2 separate regions of the Homo sapiens genome follow, and region 1 is linked to region 2. Evidence: promoter capture Hi-C in human tissues and cell types (Jung and others, 2019). All regions are on one chromosome and are shown on one strand. The core of a region is centred on a gene start or on the middle of the fragment in contact, and the rest is flanking DNA. Distances in the headings are between cores, read along the strand shown.

Region 1 (3,507 bases), core at 871-3,370, 49 kb before region 2:
ATTTATATCTGGGTGAAGGTTTAGAGCTAAATCTTTTCTCCTGTTGAGTACTAGCTTATAAATTCCTTTTACCAAGGTTATAATTTTTATATGATAAATGGTATAAAACCTGTATAGCAACATCTTAGTCACTTCCCTCAGTATAGATTTGGGGGGTATAAGTGCAGTTCTGTTGCATAGGTATATGAAGTAGTTTGGAGTCTGAGCTTTTTGTGCAGCCATTACCTGAATGGTGTACATTGCACCCATTAATTTTTCGTCCTGCACCCCACCCCCTTCTAATTCTCCAATAACCTTTAAAATACCGTTGGCATATTTAATATTAATGAATTACCTCCCATAATTGTTTCTGAATGTACACTTCTACTCTTTAATGAGAAACTTAAACATTTTAATTTTTTTGTGGTGAAGTAACCATCTTTGAGACTGAGGTTGGGTTTTTTGAGCTGGGGAGATTAAGGTGGCAGTGAGCTATGATTGCATCAGTACACTACAGCTTGGGTGACAGCTACATATAAATATGTATATATAAATATAGATAAGTAAATAAAAGCCATCTTTGTGCCATGCATGGTGGCTCACTCCTGTAATCCCAACACTGGGAAGCTGAGGTACTGAGATGGGAGGATGACTTGAGACCAGCCTGGGAAACATGGCAAAATTCCATCTCTACAAAAAATGCAGAAGTTATCCCAGGGTGGTAGCATGTCCCTGTAGTCCCAGCTACTCGGAGGCCTAAGGTGGGAGAATTACTTGCAAGGTCAAGGCTGCAGGGAGCTGAGGTGGCGCCACAACCCTCCAAACGGTGACAGCCCCTGTCTCCAAAAAAAAAAGTTTTTAAACTTTCCAATTGTAAAAGGATCCTAGTTTTATAAAATAGGAATGTGTTTTGCCTTCCCCCCATAGAGAGCCAGACATGTTTGAAATGTAGTATTTGAGAAGCACAAAATAAACGTCTTAACATTATAGAACTGTAATATGTAAGTATTTTGTTGAAAACTACAGTCGCCAGTCGTGTTGGCTCATACCTGTTGTCTTAGCACTTTGGGAGACTGAGGCAGGCAGATCACCTGAGGTCGGGAGTTCAAGACCAGCCTGGCCAACATGGTGAAACCCTGTCTCTACTAAAAATACAAAAATTAGCCAGTCATGGTGGAGTGCACCTGTAATCCCAGCAGGAGAATCACTTGAACCCGGGAGGTGGAGGTTGCAGTGCCAAGATAACACCACTGCACTCCAGCCTGCATGACAGAGCGAGACCCCATCTCAAAAAAACAAAAAACAAAAACACTACCTTTGGCTTCTGAAAACTAATACTGTTTACTCCCTGCTACTAGTAGGTATTCAGTAATAGTGAACAACTTCCTCCGGGTCCTGTGGAGAGTGGGAGAGGTCCAGCTGTACAGTTAAGCATCTCTGTTAAGGGACCAGTTTTGAAAGAATTGATGCATGGTAACATCTTGGTTAATAAAGTGGCAATTTGGTAATGACATTTTGCTTTTCTGTGAATAGAACTGATCTTTTATTAAAGTTATGGAAACTGAACTAAAAAGGATTTATAAATTTTACAAGATGGATTTGTTTTCTCATGGTGCCCCTATCTTTTCAGAGCAGATATCTTCCCTCCAAAAATGAGGACTAGATTTGCAAGTTGGTTTCTTTGCCTTTTGGAGCCTTTCTTGTAACCAGTTAGGGTTAGAGAGCCAATTTATAAGTTATTGGCTCCTTGTTTCCGTGTAAAGTATTTTTTTCATTTAACCTAGCGTATACGTATGGAAAACTTCCAAGGCTTTTCCCGATTCCATATTTAGGGCTTCTAAAACAGTAGTATGTAATGGACAGGCCAGTAATAAAGTATGAAAAGGCCTTACATTTGAAGCTTCGGGTTATATAAAGTATTTACTCATCAGTTTAGCAAGTTCACAAGTGGAAGAAAAATGTTTTAGAGTAATTTGTAGGTAAAGAGTTATTGCCATCTTGTGACAGTAGAGTGAACTACATAAAGGTTGCCATTTTACACACTGCTCAAATTGCAACATTTACATTTTTATCTGTTCACCACTGGTATTCTGGGCTAACCAGGTTTTTCTTTATAGTATTCTCCTTGACAACTTTATCACTTTAAATTGTCCACATTGTTCTAAGTTTTAAAATTCTGTTGGTTTTAGAGGTTTGGATTAGTATTTATCCCATTAGCAATTAGTTTTGAGGGGACTATATTTTATATTTTTAAAAACAGTATTGTAATATATTCCTGTACAGAGTATTATCAAAGCATTACTTCAAAGTCACTCTCAAAATAGTCACACTTTTTCTCCACTGCTTAAGTAGGAATGAACAAAAATTCCTCAAATTGCTTATTCATCACTAGAGAAAATAGTTGTCCCAGGTCCATATGTGGCAATAAATTGTTCCAGCTGTTGTTGGCACTGAGTCAGATAGAGATCCCTTTGCTCTAAGTATTCTTCATTATACAGTTCAAATGGAAATACTGCATTCGGAGCAACACAAAATACAGTGGCCCCTAAATGAAGAAGATAATAGAGTGTAAATGACAAATACTCCTTAAAATGACAAGTATGAAATCACATTTTCAACCAAAATATTTTAATGGAATCTTAAAAATTAAGTCTGAGCCCATGTGGTTCTGTGAAAAATAAAAGTCAAAAAATTAAGTTCTGACCTATTCAGTAGAGTATTTCAATAATCATTATTGAAATCTGACTCTTGTTTTCTGAAACCCAGAAAGCAGGTTCAGTAAGTGCACACGCATTGGTACCAGGGCCAATGGAAGAAGTATGTTGATGTTTATATTTTAAAGTTTGGAACTAGAAACTTGCCTTCTACTGAAATAGTCATTATAGTTTTGAAGCTGATGAGTGATGTGAGGAGGTGACAGGAGTAGGGAGAAAAGGTACTGGAAGGTAAGAAATACTAATCTTTATTTGATAACGGCTAAGTGGACGATCAAAGATAAAGACATTGTAGTACATTTCTCAGTTGTTAAAACCATTCACATAAAGGCAGACAACATAAATCTATGGAAGGGTTTCAAGACCATTCTAGGGGAAAGGACAGATTCACTTTGGATTTGGCCATGATTTCCTGAATGTGACATCAAAAGTACAGGCACCAAAAGAAAATACACATAAATGGGACCATATCAAAATTTAAAACTGCATAAAACAATACAATCAACAGTGAAAAGGCAACCTATGGAATGGGAGAAAATACTTGCAAATCAAATCTCTGATAAAGGGGTCTATAAATCTACAGTAAGAAAATAATCATTAAAAAATAGGCGGAGAACTAATATCGTTTCTCTAAAGAAAAACAAATGACCAATAAGCACATGAGAAAGATGTTCAACATCACTAATCACTAGGAAAATACAAATCAAAACTACAATGAGCTACTACCTCACACCTATAAGGATTTATTATAAAAATAAAAAACAAAATGACAAGTGTTAGAGAGGATGTGGAGAAATTAGAAGCTTTGTGCACT
Region 2 (3,328 bases), core at 511-3,010:
GGCAATTTAAGTGCTGTAATAGAAATATGAATATACCAGGTAGCATGAAAGGAACAACATATATGAAATATTTCACAAAATTTGGGGTCATCCTTGTATATGGGTCATAACATTTTCCATTATTTTAAGACATTTTCATTGAAGATGGTGGGGTCATAGGGAAGAAGGTATGAATTCTACTTTAAGGTGACATTTGATAGACGACTATTTCACTAATTGGAGGAGAGGTGAAGAGAAAGAGAAAGTGTTCCAGAGATGGAGGTCACCTTCCACCCTCATTATCAGTTTTACACTACTGGATCCACACACCCACTACGTGGAGTTCAGGCTACTTTCCAAAGAAAACCAATTAAGACTGTCCTTTTTGCTACAACATAAAAGTGAAACTTTAGCGTTTATTTCTCCGTGGCCATAAGGACAATGATCTCAAAATGTGTGTTGTGTTCAGAACATCACATCTTTGCTGCACTAGAACATTAGGTTTCTGGGGTGGAATGAAGGGCGACTATTGGTAATTAAATGGTTGGGTGAGGCCAGATTATGTACGCTTTTGAAGATTATATAGGCAAAGGGAAGCCATCAAAGTTTTTTTAAGGGGGTTAGTATTATAGTCAGATTTTTTTTTTTTTTGAGACAGGGTCTCACTATGTTGCCCAGGTTGGAGTTGCAGTGGCGTGATCTCGGCTTGCTGCAGCCTCTACCTCCCGGGCTCAAGCTATCCTCCCTTCTCAGCCTGGGACTATAGGCACGTGCCACCACATCCAGATAATTTTTAATTTTTTTGTAGAGACGGAGTTTTACTGTGTTGCCCAGGCTGGTCTCCAACTCTTGGGTAGCTGTCTCATCCTCCCAAAGTGCTGGGATTACAGGTATGAGCCACTACGCCTAGCCCATAGTCAGATTTTTATTTTGGAAACCTGTGCCTGCTGCCAATGTGGAAAGTAGGTTGGAATAGCGGGAGAGCTGATAATCAGTTTCTACCTATTGGGATATTCCTACAAGTTGGATGGCCTGATCCAGGGCATTAGGAACGAAATGGAATGGAGGAGATCGATTCTAGAATTTTAAAGATTGCACACTGGACCTGGTGATCAGTCTACAATACGCAGAAGAGTAATCGAAAGCTAAGTGGGGTTTTAATATGGGTATGGGTGGATGCTGCTGCTCTAATGGAAATACAGAGCCCAAGGAGAAGTGTTAAGGACATGAGGAAAAGTTCCCTTGAGATATCCTGACTTTGAGGACTCTTGGGATTCCCTGATAGATGTAAGCAGGAGGGGGCCATAAATCAGGGCCTGGAGTTCGGTGGCATCAAAAGAGTTAGAGCTAAGTCTGGGTGTCACTGCGTAAAGCGGAGGCCCTGGGGAGTGGACGCGTTTTCACGGAGGCATATTAAGTCGGGAAAAGACATAGAAGCCTGTGGAAAAGCGTTAAGTGAGGGAACAGGGATAAAATTCTAACTCCCTGTCTTCCCTTAGTCTAACGAACGCCGAGTGTTGCTGCACGTGGAACAGGCGCGGATTCTGTCTTCTCTCCGTGCCCTGTCAGCACCGGGGATGAACTGGTGAGGGGAAGACTGCAGGAAAACACTTCACAACCAAAGCGGATGAAAGCGAGTCCAGACTCATGAGGACCCCTCCCACTGACAGCGGTGACCTCGAGTTAGTGGGACCCCAGCGCTGTAGTGCTTTGCACTCACCTTGACTCCCACCAAGCTTGGCGGTTGCTCTCCGCCTGCAGCGTAGGCGGAGCGGAGTCCTAGCGCGCATGCGCGCACGTCCCGGCCGTTGGCTGCGTCGCGGGGCCTGCCGGGACCGCCCGCGCCCTCGGGTCAGCAGGGGAACTAGCCGGGCTTGTTCCCTTACGTTTTAATAGCTTCACTCTTGCTCCCTCCCAGCGAAGCAGAGAAAAAATAGGTCTACGTTTGGTTTTTGTTGTTATCTCAGGCAAATGATGTTATGTTTAAAAAATTCAAAACGCTGCTTCAGGGAATGCAAAATGTCTAGTCACTTTAGAAGACATTCCAGTATTCCCTCGAAGGACTCAACATAAAGTTACCCTATGATCCAGTAATTCCACTCTTAGGTATTTATAAATACACCCAAGAGAATTGAAAACATATGTTCACACAGAGACTTCTACACGAATGTTCATAGTATTATTCATAGTAGCCCCAAAGTGGAAACAATATGAATGCCCATCACCGATTAATGGATAACTGTGGTGTAAGCCATACAATGGAATGGTTTTGGCCATAAAACGTGATGAGGCACTAATACATGCTACAACATGGATGAACCTGGCAAACACTATGTAAGAAGCCAGACACAAAAGGCCATATGTTGTGTAATTTTGTTTATATGAAATGTCCAGAATAGGCGAATCCATAAGGAAAGAAAGCAGATTTGTGGTTGCCCAGAGGTTGGTTGAGAATGCAGAATGATTGCTAATGCGTATGGGATTTCTTGTTCTTTTTAAATTGTGGTAAAATATACATAAAATATACAATTTTAACCATCCTAAAGTGTAGTTACACTACCTACGTTCACACTGTGCACTCATCACCACTATCTGTAGAACTGTTTTCATTTTCCCAAACTGAAACTCCATACACATTAAACAACTCCCCATTCTTCTCTTCCTCATCCCCTGGCAACCATCAGTCTTTGCTTCCTTGAATTCGACTACTCCAGGTACCTCATGTAAATAGAATCAAACAGTATTTGTCCATTTGTGATGGGCTTATTTCACTTTGCCAAACATCTTCCAGTTTCATCCATGTTGTAACATGTTAGAGTTTCCTTCCTTTTTAAGGCTGAATAATATTCCACTGTGTGTGTACCATATTTTTTGTTGTTCATGAATTCACACAGGTTTTCTTTTAGAAGTGATGGAAATGATCTAAAATTGATTGTGGTGATAGTCACACAACTCTGAATCTACTGAAAGCCAGTTGATTGTACATTTTAAATAGTTGAATTGTACAGTACTTGAATTAAATCTTATTGAGGTTGGCCGGGTGCGGTGGTTCACGCCTATAATCCCAGCACTTTGGGAGGCCAAGGCGGGTGGGTCACTTGAAGTCGGGAGTGGACACCAGCCTGGACAACATGGTGAAACCCCATCTCTACTAAAAATACAAAAATTAGCCAGGTGTGGTGGCGCGCGCCTGTAATTCCAGCTACTCTGGATTAATACTATTAGCAGACAGGATAATCACTTGAACCCAGGAGGCAGAAGTTGCAGTGAGCAGATATCGCACCATTGCACTCCAACCTGGGCGATAGAGCGAGACCCTGTCTCCAAAAAAAAAAAAAAAGAAACTGTT

What was found. The method cuts DNA at HindIII sites, captures the fragments that hold promoters and counts their contacts. A contact is called where the count stands out against the background at its distance.
Region 1: a contact is called between a fragment that was not itself captured here and the fragment with the promoter of MCMDC2 in region 2, in 1 of the 25 tissues and cell types used here (hippocampus).

What each region holds. Positions count from the first base shown.
Region 1 is chr8:66,918,020-66,921,526 of GRCh38, reverse strand. It overlaps MCMDC2 (minichromosome maintenance domain containing 2), which reads right to left. Exons shown (of 15, transcript NM_173518.5): 15 at 1-2,524. The coding sequence ends at 2,358. Among named protein-coding and RNA genes, the nearest start is that of SNORD87, 2.8 kb to the left of the region's middle. The HindIII fragment of the contact is 4,437 bases long and covers 1-3,507 here.
Region 2 is chr8:66,869,203-66,872,530 of GRCh38, reverse strand. MCMDC2 (minichromosome maintenance domain containing 2) reads right to left here and starts at 1,760. Exons shown (of 15, transcript NM_173518.5): 1 at 1,700-1,760. RefSeq lists an enhancer at 1,474-1,543. The HindIII fragment of the contact is 9,372 bases long and covers 1-3,328 here.